Linked DNA regions of Homo sapiens: region 2 is linked to region 1. Evidence: promoter capture Hi-C in human tissues and cell types (Jung and others, 2019). All regions are on one chromosome and are shown on one strand. The core of a region is centred on a gene start or on the middle of the fragment in contact, and the rest is flanking DNA. Distances in the headings are between cores, read along the strand shown.

What was found. Contacts are between HindIII fragments. The study calls those that stand out against the background at their distance.
Region 2: a contact is called between a fragment that was not itself captured here and the fragment with the promoter of RRP1 in region 1, in 1 of the 25 tissues and cell types used here (mesenchymal stem cells).

What each region holds. Positions count from the first base shown.
Region 1 is chr21:43,784,587-43,792,410 of GRCh38, reverse strand. It overlaps RRP1 (ribosomal RNA processing 1), which reads right to left and starts at 2,834. Exons shown (of 13, transcript NM_003683.6): 1 at 2,649-2,834; 2 at 979-1,061. The coding sequence starts at 2,781. RefSeq lists silencers at 272-484, 2,424-2,593, 2,804-3,033 and enhancers at 2,664-2,773, 4,929-5,469, 5,470-6,011. The HindIII fragment of the contact is 35,062 bases long and covers 1-7,824 here.
Region 2 is chr21:43,747,713-43,755,536 of GRCh38, reverse strand. PDXK (pyridoxal kinase) reads right to left here. Exons shown (of 11, transcript NM_003681.5): 6 at 6,457-6,542; 7 at 4,992-5,037; 8 at 2,908-3,019; 9 at 1,818-1,954. Among named protein-coding and RNA genes, the nearest start is that of CSTB, 25 kb to the left of the region's middle. The HindIII fragment of the contact is 8,662 bases long and covers 1-6,133 here.

The sequences.
Region 1 (7,824 bases), core at 1,585-4,084:
GCACTGCCCTCTTGACAGAGGCTGTGCCCTAAGCCACAGAGTCACGGTTAAAGAGGGACGTGGGAGAGCGGAAGGGAGCCTTGGGACTCACAGCCCCCTAACCATCAGGAGGAAGAGGGCTGCGAGACCCCATAGATCACTGGCTATCTGCCTACATCACCGTGCCAGCCATCGCCCAGAATACTTGCTAAGGGACATTTCACAGCCTCCCCTTGATAATTCAGTGGGCATGGAATATGGCCCAGGAACCTGAACTTAACTAAGTACCCTCACCACCCAGGAGATTTTGAAGGAGAGCACAAAATTCACAATTTGAGAAACAATGTTTGGAAAAGGCTAGCAGGAGACGTCCTTGTCTCAGGAGACTTGAATTCCGCCCCGTGGTTTCCACTATTTCAGCACTTGTTTGCAACCCAGGACAAACACAAAACCCAGTTTTCACCCATGCCAGTGCTGCTGCAGTGCACGGCTCAGTCAATCACATCAACACCTCAGCAAGTGTAAGACTCACCTAACAAAGGCCCAGGCCCACCAGCCGTGCCGAACCAAGCGTCAAGGCTATACGACCTCCCCACGGTCTCTGGCCATATTAAAACTGGGTTGACCAGGCCGGGCGCGGTGGCTCATGCCTGTAATCCCAGCACTTTGGGAGGCCGAGATGGGAGGATCACTTGAGCTCAGGAGTTCGAGACCAGCCTGACCAACATGATGAAACTCTGTCTCTACTAAAAATACAAAAAATTAGCCAGGCATGGTGGCAGGTACCTGTACTCCCAGCTACTTGGGAGGCTGAGGCAGGAAAATTGCTTGAAACCAGAAGGCTGAGGTTGCAGTAAGCCGAGATTGAGCCACTGCACTCCAGCCTGGGCAACAAGAGCGAAACTCCGACTTAAAAAAAAAAGAAAAACTGGGTTGACCAGATGCCCATCCATCCTCCCCCGCTGCTTCTGTACCTGCTCTGCTGCTCCCCCCACTCACCTGGAGGAGTGGCTTGTCCTGCATCCACATGCAATAAAACAGTCCTTTCCACACCTTCAGCAGCTCGTCGTGCGTAAAACCACCTGCATCAAAACAGCAACGGTTGGACCAAATGAATCCCACACCTTCGAGTGCCAGAAAGGAAGCCACAGAAACGTGACTGCCTGAATGAGACCAAAGTCCCACTTACGGTAAAGGCAACTGGGGGGCAGAATCTGGCCCTCCCCTTCAAACAATCCTTCTAACCCAGAACCTGCCGCGCCTGTGGCTATGCGGCTACTCCAGGTAACTGCTACTTCACGCACACAGTAAAACCGACTGAGATCTACAAGGTATCAGGCACCATACTCCATTTTGGAAATTCAAAATTGCGAACCTTGACGGTTTCCTAAGCTGGACAGTGGCCACAAGGTTAATCTGTTGGTGATAATTCATCCAGCATTATACTGAGGGCTTCTGCACTCTCCTGTAATATATCTCAAATACTAAAAGAAGAAAGTGAACTCAGGCATTCAGACTACGAGAGAAACAGAAATTACTGAGGCCAGGTGCGGTGGCTCACGCCTGTACTCCCAGCACTTTGGAATTGAGTGCTGAGGCAGGATCACTTGAGGCCAGGAGTTCAAGACCAGTCTGGGCAACATAGGAAGACCCCAATTTGTACAAAAAATACAAAACTTAGCTGGCCTGGCCGCACGGTGCCAGTAGTCCCAGCTATTGGGGAGGCTGAGATGGGAGGCTCACTTGAGCCTGGGAGGTAGAGGCTGCAGTGAGCTGTAATCGTGCCAATGCACTCCTCCACCACGGATGACAGTGAGGTCTGTCTCACTCAGAAAAATAACAAAAAATTTTAATTTAAAACATTACTCAGTTGACATTCACTGAAGTCCTATGTGTCTGGCAACCTGTTCCTGCAGCAGTGGTTCTCAGGCTGAGTGTGGGGAGCAGAAGCACTTGAACAGCTTCATAAAGCAGATGCCAGTCCTGATTTAGTAGGGCTGGGATCCTAGAACTTGCATTTCTTTCTTTTCTTTTGCGATGGAAATGGAGTCTTGCTATGTTGCCCAGGCTGGACTCCTGGGCCTTTGTGATCCTCCCACATCGACGTGCCAAGTAGCTGGGATTACAGGCTTGGGCCACTGCGCCCGGCATAGAACGTGTATTTCTAACAAATGTCCAGGGGATGCTACTGCTGATGGGGGACCACGCTCGGAGAACCACCTGGTACCATGAACAAGAAGTAGATTCTCGGCCCTCAGAGAGGTACTCTCGAGTGGAAATCGGAAAACAATCCAATAATTAACGCAAAACAGAAAACTGCAAACAGTGGGAAATGCTGCCATGAGGGAAAAATACTGGGTGCCCAAACAGCAGGGCAGCAGGAGTACATGGTCTACTGGAGGGAGGGGACGCCTGAGCTAGGAAAGGGGTTACGGGGCTGGGGAGGAGCGTTCTCGCAGAGGGACCAGAGTCACCGCACCACGAGGGAAAGCGGCGGCGGGGGCCGTGGGCCGGTAACAGCGGGAACAGGCCAGTGGACCCCGCCTGCCCGGCCCGGCCACGTGGAGGTTCCACAGGGCTCGGAGGGCCCCCAGCTCCGGCCGCCGCCGCCCACACCCGCACCAGCCCAGCCGGCCCCCGAGACGCCAGCCGCCCACACCCCCGCCAACCTGCGGCCCGCTGAGTCCTGGCGACGATGTATTTCCGGAGCTTCCTCACCGCCCGGTCCCGGGTCACCTGCTCATTCCCCGCCAGGCGCTGAGCCAGCTGGATCTCAGGCGGGAGCTGCACGCGCGAAACCATGACGCCGACGGCCGAGACCCCCTGTCCCGGAGTCGCCTGGTACCCAGCACACTGAGCACGCGCCTCCTGCGCCCGCCTCCTCCTGGCCCCGGCGCGTGGCGTGACGTCACAGCCCGCGACACCGCCCAGGCGCACGCCACCGCCGCGCAGTGGCCGAGCCGCGCAACTGCAGCCCCCGGAGGCCGAAGGCTACAGAGGGGGCGCGCGCTCCCTGCCTGTGCGCATGGGCGGAACCAGCGAGCGCGCGCCTGCGCCTGCGCCTGCGCCTCGCTGGGGCTGCGGTGGGTCGGGATTCTGAGGCAAAGATCTGTTGTTTTTTAATCTCATTTTATTTATAACCCCACTTGTATTTTTTTCCTGAGACAGGGTCTCGCTCTGTTACCCACGCTGGAGTGCAAGGCGCGATCTCGGCTCACTGCAGCCTTTGCCTCGCGGGCTCCAGGGATCCCCCAGCCTCAGCCTCCCGAGGAGCTGGGACCACGGGCGCCACCACTCTCGGCTCGAAACTTTATTTTTAAAACCAGGGGTGTGCCGGGCGCGGTGGCTCACGCCTGTAATTCCAGCACTTTGGGAGGCTGAGGCGGGTGGATCACGAGGTCAGGAGTTTGAGACCAGCCTGACCAACATGGTGAAACCCTGTCTCTACTAAAAATACAAAAATTAGCCAGGCGTAGTGGCGGGCGCTTGTAATCCCAGCTACTCAGGAGGCTGAGGCAGGAGAATTGCTTGAATCCGGGAGGCGGAGGTTGCAGTGAGTCGAGATTGCGCCGCTGCACTCCAGCCTGGGCGACAGAGTGAGACTCTGTCTCAAAAAACAACAACAAAAAAAAAAACGGGGAGGCTGCATTTGGCCTAGGGCCACAGTTTGACATACCCTGAAGTAGAAAAATATTCTTTATTTTTAGAAATAACTGCAGAACTCTTTGGTAAAGGTGACCTGTCATGATGTCTGTAATTCATTCTGCAAAAAAGTAAATCATTACACGCACATATGTGTATGCAGATAAGCAACTATGGCACACTGTTAACAGTTGTGGCGTTGGCCGGGCGCGGTGGCTCACGCCTGTAATCCCAGCACTTTGGGAGGCCGAGGCGGGCGGATCATGAGGTCAGGAGATCGAGACCATCCTGGCTAACACGGTGAAACCCCGTCTCTACTAAAAACACAAAAAATTAGCTGAGCGTGGTGGCGGGCGCCTGTAGTCCCAGCTACTCAGGAGGCTGAGGCAGGAGAATGGCGTGAACCCCGGAGGCGGAGCTTGCAGTGAGCCGAGATCGCGCCACTGCACCCCAGCCTGGGTGACAGAGTGAGACTCCGTCTCAAAAAAATACAAGTGTGGCGTCTACAGGCAGGAATACAGGTCTTCATTGACCTATCTTCTGACATTTTCTATGTATGAAATTTTTCATAAAAAGTTGAAAAGGCTGGCAGTGGTGGCTCATGCCTGTAATCCCAACCATCACTTGGGGAGGCCAAAGCAGGTGGATCACCCGAGGTCAGGAGTTCGAGACCATCCTGGCCAACATGGTGAAACCCCATCTCTACTAAAAATACAAAAATTAGCTGGGTGTGGTGGCGAGCACCTGTAATCCCAGCTACTCGGGAGGCTGAGGCAAGAGAATTGCTTGAACACAGGAGGCGGAGGTTGCAGTGAGCCAAGATCCGGCCACTGCACTCCAGCCTGGGCGACAGATTTTGAAACTCTGTCTAAAAAGAAAAAAAAAAGGAAACATTTAGCAACTGGTTTTAGAATCTGAATTAGTTCTTGTTGTTGTTGTTGTTGTTGAGACAGTTTCACTCTGTCGCCCGGGCTGGAGTGCAGTGGCACGATCTTGGCTCACTGCAACCTCCACCTCCAGGATTCAAGCAATTTCTGGCTAATTTTTGTGTTTTTAGTAGAGATGGGGTTTCACCATGTTGGCCAGGCTGATCTCGAACTCCTGACCTCAGGTGATCGGGCTGCCTCGGTCTCCCCAAAGTGCTGGGATTACAGGCGGGAGGCACTGCACCCAGCCAGCCTCTCCTCTTCTTATGAGGACGTCAGTCAGTGTGGACTTAGGCCTGCCTTAATTTAGCATGACCTCATGTTAACTAACCATGTCTGGAAAGACCCGTTTACCAAATTAAGGCCACATTCCGAGGTTCCAGCGGACATGACTTTCCGGGGGACAAGCACGAATGAGAAGAGGCCCTGCACTCACACAGTGGGTATGTCGCACGCACACACTGGGTATGTCACGCACAGTGGGCATGTTGCACGCACACAGTGGGCATGTCAGGCGCACAGTGGGTATGTCGCACGCACACAGTGGGTATGTTGCACGCACGCAATGGGCATGTCAGGTGCACAATGGGCATGTCAGGCGCACAGTGGGTATGTCTCGCACACAGTGGGTATGTCGCATGCACACAGTGTCAGGCACACAGTGGGTATGTTGCACGCACACAGTGGGTGTGTCGCGCACAATGGGCGTGTCAGATGCACAGTGGGTATGTCGCGCACAGTGGGTATGTCAGGTGCACAGTGGGTATGTGGCACGCACACAGTGGGCATGTCAGACGCACAGTGGGCATGTCACGCGCACAGTGGGCATGTCGCACACACACAGTGGGCATGTCAGGCGCACAATGAGCATGTCAGGCGCACAGTGGGTATGTCGCGCACACAGGGTGTGTCATGCGCACAGTGGGTGTGTCGCACGCACAGTGGGTATGTCGCACACACACAATGGGTATTTCACGCGCACAGTGGGTATGTCGCACTCACACAGTGGGTATGTCGCGCGCACAGTGGGTATGTCAGGTGCACAGTGGGTATGTCGCATGCAAACAGTGGGCATGTCGCACGCACACAGCGGGCATGTCAGGTGCACAGTGGGCATGTCGCGCGCACAGTGGGTATGTCGTGCGCACAATGGGTATGTCGCACGCACACAGTGGGTATGTTGCACGCACATAGTGGGCATGTCAGGCGCACAATGGGCATGTCAGGTGTACAGTGGGTATGTCATGCAAACAGTTGGTATGTTGCACACAGTGGGTATGTCGCATGCACACAGTGGGTGGTATCGTGCATGCAATGGGCATGTCAGGCTCACAGTGGGTATGTCAGGTGCACAGTGGGTATGTCTCGCACATAGTGGGTATATCAGGCACATAGCGGGTATGTCACACCCAGCTGCTGAGAACAGGGTGGGAGGGACTAAGCTGTACTAGGAGGGTGAAGTTGTGCACTGGGGAGCACACCTTCACACCAGGCTCGAGATGCCAGGCTTCAGACGGAAAGGACATGGCAGGTGGTCTCTAAAGATATGGAAGACTAAGATTTGGAAATCGAATAAAGTGGCTTTTAAAAAATCTCTTCTCGGGCTGGGCGTGCTGGCTCATGCCTGTAATCCCAGCACTTTGGGAGGCTGAGGTGGGTGGATCACGAGGTCAGGAGATCCAGACCTCATAGGTGAAACCCGTCTCTACTAAAAACACAAAAAATTAGCTGGGTGTGGTGGCGGGCGCCTGTAGTCCCAGCTACTTGGGAGGCTGAGGCAGGAGAATGGCATGAACCTGGGAGGCAGAGCTTGCAGTGAGCCGAGATAGCACCACTGCACTCCAACCTGGGCGACAGAGTGAGACTCCGTCTCAAAAAAAAAAAAATCTCTTCTGCTGGCATGACCTGTTGAAGGCAGAAACAAAAACGCTCTCCAGGGTAACCTCCTCCCCCTTTTTTTTTTGACAGAGTCTTGCTCTGTCACCCAGGCTGGAGTGCAGTAGCGTGATCTCAGCTCACTGCAACCTCCGCCTCCCAGGTTCAAGTGTCTCCTGTGTCAGCCTCTTGAGTAGCTGCAACTACAGGCGCCCACCACCACACCTGGCTAATTTTTGCATATTTAGTAGAGACAGGGTTTCGCCATGTTGCCCGGGCTGGTCTCGAACTCCTGACCTCAAGTGATCAGCCCACCTCAGCCTCCCACAGTGCTGGGATTACAGGCGTGAGCCACCACGCCTGGCCACAGTATAACCCATTTCTGACTGAAAGTCACACTAGGGCTCAGCCTTAAGGAAAACTAAGTTTAAACCTCTTTTTCACTGTATTTTCTCTTTTCCCCCGGGCTAGAGGTGGAGACAAGAAAATATGACCTGGTTTTTAATGAATATTAAAGACCAAAATTTCAAATTTTTAAACGGCCTGAAATGTCCCACTACTTTTATTTTATTTTATTTTATTTATTTTTTTAAGAGACAGAGTTTCACTCTATCTCCCAGGCTGGAATGCAGTGTTGCAATCACAGCTCACTGCAGCCTCGACCTCCAGGGCTCAAGTGATCCTCCCACCCCAGCCTTCTGAATAGCTGGGACCACAGGTGTGCATCACCTCAGCTAGCTAATTTTTTATTTTTTGTAGAGATGGTGTGTTAGTCAGGGTTTTCTAGAAGGACAGAACTAATAGGATATATATATATATATCCTATTTTATATATATATATATATCCTATTTTATATATATATATATATCCTATTTTATATATATATATATATATATATATACACACACACACACACACAAAGGGGAGTTTATTAATTATTAACTCTCACGATCACAAGGTCCCACAGTAGGCTGTTTGCAAGCTGAGGAGCAAGGAGAGCCAGTCTGAGTCCCAAAACTGAAGAACTTGGAGTCCGATGTCCGAGGGCAGGAAGCATCCAGCACGGGAGAAAGATGTAGGCTGGGAGGCTAGGCCAGTCTCGTCTTTTTACATTTTTCTGCCTGCTTTATATTCTAGCCTTGCTGGCAGCTGATTAGATGGTGCCCACCCAGATTAAGGGTGGGTCCGCCTTTCCCAGCCACTGACTCAAATATGAATCTCCTTTGGCAACACCCTCACAGACACACCCAGGATCAGTACTTTGCATCCTTCAGCCCAATCAAGTTGACACTCAGTATGAACCATCACAGATGGGGTCTCATTACCTTGCACAGTCTGATCTTGAACTCCTGGGCTCAAGCGACCCTCCCACTTTGGTCCCCCAAAGTGCTGGGATTACAG
Region 2 (7,824 bases), core at 553-3,052, 36 kb after region 1:
GCTGCGGACTGCCCACCACGGAGAGCCCGGAGGGCTGAGCAGATGCCCGGTCCCAGCTACCTGCTCTGGACAAGAGATGGCTCACAGAAGGGACAGCCTCGTGACCTGCATAGAACTTGGCAGGCAGCAGGAGCTTGGTAGGAGTTCCCAGAATTAACTCCTTATAACGAGTCTACAAGGGGAAGTGCTCCTGCCGAAAGCCCAGCCAATCATCACTCAGTGATGCCTCAGAGTCAGCCAATCATCACTCAGTGATGCCTCAGAGTCAGCCAATCATCACTCAGTGATGCCTCAGAGTCAGCCAATCATCACTCAGTGATGCCTCAGAGTCAGCCAATCATCACTCAGTGATGCCTCAGAGTCAAAGGTGCTGGGGAAGCACGGGGAACTCGCTCCCCGACTCCACAACCCTGGGCTGGCCAAACCCAGAATGTGACCTTGGGCGGCCTGGCAGTGAGGCCTCCTCGGGGTGCCAGCTGGCACTTTTCCACTGCCCTGCACCACCAATTAAACACGGCAGGCTTACTTAATGGCCCTGTTTAATTGCCCTTGAGGGGCCAGAAGGGATGGAATGAGGGGGCTGTGCATTCCAGCTCAGGGTGTGCAGAGGGCTAGTCCCATGGGAGGCAAAGGGCCTCAGTCCACCTCTTCCATTTTACACACCAGGACACTCAGCTGAAACTGACTTGTTGGGGAGGAGGTGTACCCCGGGGGACACGTGGCCCCTTAAGCGGCCCGGCAAAGACAGCACAGGGAGAGCCACCTGCAGGTCCTGACCTCTGAACTCTTCCTTCCCCAGCGCACCCAATAGTGACAGAGGTGTCCTGTCTTCCTCCTGTCACTCCCATGGCACCCCTGCCCTGCCCCACATTCCAAAGGGATGGCAGGCCCCTCCCTCCCACCTGAACCCACTGCGGACGCAGTGGGAAGTACCCAGGGGAGTTTTGGGGGCTGAGCCCAGGGGCTGGGGACCACCTCAGAGCACAGCACGGCTCTGGACGGTGTTGTAAGAAGACACACTCCAGGCGTCCTCGGACTCAGCTGACAAAACCACCTGCCGAGGCCACAAGCAACTCTGCTGCATGCAGCACGGGAGGTCACGGATCTGAGCGCCACAGTTGCAACAAAACTCCTCTGTCCCCGCTGAGCTGTGTGCTTACCCATGGGACACACGAGAAAGGCTCACGAGACCCCACATCCCAACCTGCCATGTCAGTTGCCCAACAGTCCCACTCCCCCCACTGTCTAAGCAAAGCCACCCGATCTCTACAAACTTGAAAAGCAGGCAGACATCCAGACAAAACGCCCAGAAAGACGGCTCTCCACACCTGCCTGGACCCCTGTCCTCAGCCTCCCACCTACTGTCCCCGAAGGGCGGCTCCGGCCTTTCCGTCCCTCAGGTCACTGCCGTGGTCACACTGTGGGAAATGCTGCAGGGTGCCACTCCTCTGCAGCAGCCCCCAAGTCACCAAGGACACAACAGCTCCATGCATCCCACAGCCCTGCGCCAACGCCAAGCGGGTGGCATCTGAATCCTGGTGGGACCCCCATGGGTCTGTTCTGAAACATCTGTCACCCAAGCCCTCACAGACTCTGATCATCCCTAGGTCCCAAATAAGGGGAGATGGGAGGCGATGTGAGAGTGACAGGCGCAACTCCTGTCATGGCCTGGCCACTGCCCTCCCCCACAACTGGGGCCAGCACTCAGGGCCATGCCCTGTCAGCTCAGCAGGGACCCCCCACCAGGACTCTCATATCCTGCTCCCCATGAGGTGCCGTGGGAGTGGGCGAGGAGGGGAGCGGTGCGTGTGGCTGACCTTGAGGTTATTGGGGTGCTTGTGTGTCCACGCCAGGAGCATGGCAGCAAACAGGTCCCCAGTGCCCACAAAGACGGCGTCCACTTTGCGAATGTCCATCCGGATGCGTTCCATCACCACGGAGCCAGCGGGATTCCCTAGGGGGAGAAGATGGGCAAGGTCACTGAGATCTGCCGCTCCTCTGCCAGGGCCAGCCTCCCATCCCTGATCCTCCTGGGCACGGCGGCAGGGAGGGTCACAGGGGCAGAGCACAAGGTGGCCTTGCTCAGGACGTGGGGGCTCAGGGCATGCATGGGGTCCCCATCACCGCAGCAAGGGAAAGGGAAAGACTGCACCCTCAGAGGGCCACACGGTCAGGCCGCCTCGGGGGTCGCTGTGAAACTCCCGAGAGTAACGACGGCGTGAAGAACTAGGATGTACCTGGACGCATCCGAGTGTGTGTGCATGTGTGTGCGTGTGCCCACGTGTATGCATGTGTGTCCGTGTGTATGCATGTGTCCGTGTGCATGTATGCCTGTGTGTGCCCGTGTGTATGTGTGCATGTATGCCTATGTGTGCCCATGTCCACGTGTGTGCCCGTATGTGCATTTGTGCCCAAGTGTATGTGCATTTGTGCCTATGTGTGTGCCTGCAAGGCTCCCATGTCCAAACATAGAGCGGCAAGGAGGTCACAGCTGTTCTTTTGGGCCCATGGGTATGAACCCGCGGCCACTAGCTTAGTGCATGGCCCCAGCCTTCTGCGTCATTTTCACACTGTTCAGAGAAAATCAACCAGGTGGTGTCTGTGTAAACAATCAGCACAGCCGGGTGGACGCGTCCTCCCAGTGAACTCAGGGACCCCGCCTGGCTCTGAGGGAGGCCTATGATGCTGGGTCCGTGGAAGCCAGTTCCAGCCAGGCCATTCATCGTGACCTGTGAGGTCTTGGGAATCCCACCTGATCCCTGAGAGTCTGTAAAATGGGGGTGTCATCCCGGTGCTGGATAAGGCTTAAATTTCATGCTATTGAACCCAAAACATTCTTGCAGCCCCAAAGAACACCTTCCTCTGGGAAGAGCAGAGGCGGCCACGGTGCACGATGGGGGCACTTACTCCTCCTCTGACTCCCCAGCACAATCAGGTAGTTGCTGCCCTGCGGGGAGGGCAGGTCGGAGCTGGTGATGACCACGGTGTCGGGGCCCATAGAGTGCAGCATGTCCATCACCTAGCAGTGGCACAGGGAGCGTCAGCCACGGCCGGTCACATGTCAGCCACGGCTGGTCACACCCCACTCCCCGATCCATCACCTGGCAGTGGCACGGGGAGCATCAGCCACGGCCGGTCACACCCCACTCCCCCAGAGCCCGTTCCCAATGGCGGCACTCCCGGAGGGAAGACAGCCACCTGGTCAGCCACCATCCCCCCACAAACTGTCAGCCCAAACCGTGTGGCTCCCCACAGGTGACTGGCGAGGGCCTCCCCCTTGGGGGGTGGACAGATGGGTGCCTGTCCTGCAGCGAGGAGGAGCTGGCCCCTCTGTACGTTGGCTTTTCTGTAACTCTCGTAGAAACTGTCTCCACCGCACGGTTGCCTCAGATCGGGCAGCACGCGCGCGCACACACACACACACACACACACACATGTGCTGCATCGCCACCCAGCACGTGTCCATAGCAGAATCTGGACCCTGCTCCAGGGTCAGCTGACTCTGCAGTCCCAGGACCCAATACCAGGTCAGCGAAAGGCCTCCGAGTGGGAGGAGTGGCTGCTGCAGTGGCCCATTCTCAGGACCAGGCTCCTGGGTTGTGAAGACAAAATTCAGGGCAGCGCCAGGCTGCTTGGGAACGCAGCCCAAAGCACATGGACTCCTGCTGCAGTCTGACAGTGTCTGCTCTAAAATGCATGTTGAAACATGGCACCCATGTGGCAATATTCAGAAGGGGTCCTCTGGGGCATGATTAAGTCATGAGGGCTCCCCTTTCTCTGTGCCTGATGAGGGCTGGAGGGAGCAGCATGGGCCCCTCGAGCCCCCTGCCATCCACACATGAGGATGCAGCAACAAGGTGCAGTCCGGGTAGCAAAGTAGCCCCCGCCAGACCCTGAGCCTGCCAGTGCCTTGACCTTGGACTTCCCAGCCTCCAGAACTGTGGGGAACAAAGTTCTGTTTTGTTTTGTTTTGTTTTGTTTTTTGAGATGGAGTCTCGCTCACTCTGTTGCCCAGGCTGGAGTGCAGTGGTGCAATCTCAGCTCACTGCAACCTCCGCCTCCTGGCTTCAAGCGATTCTCCTGCCTCAGCCTCCCAACTAGCCGGGATTATAGGCGTGCACCACCATGCCCAGCTAATTTTTGTATTTTTAGTAGAGATGGGGTTTTACCATGTTGGCCAGGCTGGTCTCGAACTCCTGACCTCAAGTGATCTGACCACCTCAGTCTCCCAAAGTGCTGGGATTACAGGCGTGAGCCACTGCATCCGGCCAAAAGTTCTGTTTTTTATAAATCATCCAGTCTCAGGCATTTTGTCACAGCAGCCCCAACAGACTAAGATGACTCAACCAAGGTTCAATGCTAGCAAGACACGCACGGTCTCCAAGTCCCGGAGAAAAAGGACTTTGAAGAAACTGCACCTTGGGCTGCTGCATCTGCTCCTGTGTCCAGCCTCCAGCCTGCCCTTCCCAACAGCTGGCCCTGCAAATCCCAAACATGCCCAGGAGCCCCCACACAGCTCAAGCCACCGCCTTACAATAGCTCTTCACACACATGTGCACACACACACACACACATGCACACACATGTGCAAACACGTGCACACATACGCACACACATGCACACATGCGTGCACACCCATGCCCACACGCCCATGGACACACATGCACACAGACGCACATGCACATGTGCACACACACACGTGCACACATGCACACATGGGTGCGCGCACACACGCACACATCCACACACACACCCACACACAATACGCGCGCACACACGCACACATGCACACACACACACACATGCACAAACATGTCCACACATGTACACACACACATATATCCTGCTGATCTCTGGAGGCCCCGACTGGTACAGACTGTTCAGTCACTGCTGGGGAGAAATGACACAGTGGTGCCACTCAGGCAGCCTGTCTCCCGTCCCCACCGTGAGCGGCACATGTGCCCCGCACAGGCCCCAGAGGGCCTCCTTACCCGCAAGGCTTCCTCCTGGCTGTGGATCTTCCGGCCACTCAGTAACCTGGAAGACAGGCGGGGACAGGCGGGTGGGGACAGGTGAGCCTCTCCTCTCCGGGTTGTGTGTTGACATTCCCCAAACCGCAGCGGCTCTGGAAATCCCCATCCCCACAGGCAGCTAACTCTTCGTCCACTGGCCACCCTGGGCCGGGGCCCCTGCAACATGTGGGGTTTGGTTCTAAAGGGGACCCTCACATTACAGGAGTCACGTAAGGCCCAATCATGGCTGCTGTTTATACGTAACCGTGGTGATGGACAGCAGCCACGGCCCCCACTTAAGGCCCATGCCACAGCGCAGGGTCTCAGCATGGGTGACTGACATCCATACAAAGTCAAAGAGCCGCTAGCGATTAATGCACGCATGGGCCACCCATGGCTCAGGGGCCTCGAGTGAGATGCCACCCCCAAGTTTGGACAGGCCCAGGTCAGGGATCCCAGGCCTCCAAGAGTCCAGGCGCCCCCACCCCTGCGTGAATGGGGGGGCTCAAGACCTGGCTCAGGGCCAGGTAGAGCTAAGCTGTGACAGGCACCAGCCCCCTCCGCGGGCAGCTCCACTCTTCATGGCACTGGGGCGCTGGTGGCTTCCCCTGGTGTGTGATTCTTCAGCTGGGGGGAGCCATGCACCCAAAGAAAGACCTTTTCAAACTCGGTATCAGACAGCCAAGCCCAACACACTCCTCTTCCCCTCACAGGGCGGCAGGTGACCTGGCCGCCTGTGCTGCCCCCACCCTCCCTCTGCTGTGGTGGCCCCGACAAGCCCACAGCTCCCCAGGTCGCCCCTCCTCTTCCTCTCCCAGGGGCCCTGCCGCTCAGGAAGGCACAGGGGCAGCAAAACCATCCCCATCACCCATGGCTGCCACCACCAAAGAGAAGACGTGAGCCTGGGACCCAGGTGGGCAGGGGCTTCTCCAACCCAGGCGCCCCCACCACATCCTGCTCCAGTATCAAGGGGCACTCGCCCCATGGCAGGACCTTCCTGAGAACCACTTCGTAAGCTAAACAGGCAGCCCGAAGGCAGAGTGGAGACCCTTCTGGCATGTTCTCTGCAGCTCTCCCTGGGGAAAGACTGGTAGCATTTGCCATTTAAAATAACTTACTCTGCTGGGCACGATGACTCATGCCTGTAATCCCAGCACTTTGGAAGACTGAGATGGGTGGATCACCTGAGGTCAGGAGTTCAAGACCAGCCTGGCCAACATGGTGAAACCCCGTCACTACTAAAAATACAAAAATTAGCCGGGCGTGGTGGCTCACGCCTGTCATCCCAGCTACTCGGGAGGCTGAGGCAGGAGAATTGCTTGAACCCCGGAGACAGAGGTTGCAGTGAGCTGTGATCGTGCCACTGCACTCCAGCCTGGGTGACAAGAGCGAGACCCATCTTGAAAAATAAATAAATAAAGTAAAATAAAATAAAATGACTTACTCGGCCTCAAACTGGTTGGGCGTGATAATGTCTGCAAGCGGCACCACTTTTTCTTTGTAGACGGGAAGGAGGTCCTCCGGGACGTACTGGCCAACAAAGGAGACAGGAGGAGAGGCTGAGTCACCGTGAGGGAAGCACGCCAGGGGGCGCGGAGGGAAGCCCACCACGGAGTGCTCCCCCAAAAGCCCCCTGAAGTCCAGGCTCAGGGGCCAGGCCCCCCGACTGTAGCGATAAGTTGTTCCCACCACGGGGACAGCGTGTGGCCGAGGCACACTAGAGTGGGGAACCCTAAGTGCTCCGAGGGGCCGAGGGAGGACTCAGGGCGCACAGTGGGTCCCCACAGAGTGTCTGGGAGGAGAAGGAGGTGAAGGAGAGAGGGAGGGAGGGAGGAGGGAGACGAGGAAAGGGAAACCCCACAGGTGGATGGAGCAGCCCTGGTCATCTGGTGAGGGCTTGGGGGTGCTGGCCATGTCCATCTGCGACTGGGAGCCCAACCCGCCAGCTCTTCCTGGCTGAGTCAATGCACCCTTCATCTAGTTTTTGTCTAAGTTGCCTGACAAACAATTCAACACTTTTTTGTTTTGTTTTGTTTTTTGAGACAGTTTCGCTCCTGTTGCCCAGGTTGGAGTGCAATGGCGTGGTCTTGGCTCACTGCGACCTCCACCTCCTGGGTTCAAGCGATTCTCCTGCCCCAGCCTCCCGAGCAGCTAGGATTACAGGCGCCTGCCCCCACGCCCGGCTAATTTTTTTTAGTAGAGACGGGGTTTCGCCATGTTGGCCAGGCTGGTCTCGAACTCCTGACCTCAGGTGGTCCACCCGCCTCAGCCTCCCAAAGTGCTGGAATTACAGGCGTGAGCCACTGTGCCAGGCAACACATGGTTTTCTTTAGCGATCAAATTTAAGCCGGAGGCAGTGCGAAGCTCTGGAAGAATTCTGTGGGCTTCATGGAACATTTCAGCAGCCCCTGCTGGCTGAGTGGCCTGAGTTTCCAATCCCTTCACTTCACTTTGCTCCCGGAAACCTCCCTTGGAGATCAGAGGCCCCACAGGAGGCATGTCTGCACCTGGTGCTCAGAGCACACAAAGTGGTCACACGCCGGCCGCTGCTCCAGACATGGCTTAGGAGGCACTAAGGATGGGTGGGTGGCACGTGGATGTCCCCGATCCCTGGACCAGGAAATCGAAGGAAAGCTCTTTAGAGCCCCATTTTGGGTAGGGAGGGCCAACACACCCCTTTAACCTCACGGAAAGGGGAGATACGGGGTGACCGCTCATCTGAGACAGGAGCTCGTGTTTAGGCCACTCTTGTTCAGGAAAACAAATGTGATCAAAATCGAGGGGCCAGATCCCGTAGCCGCACTGAACTGGA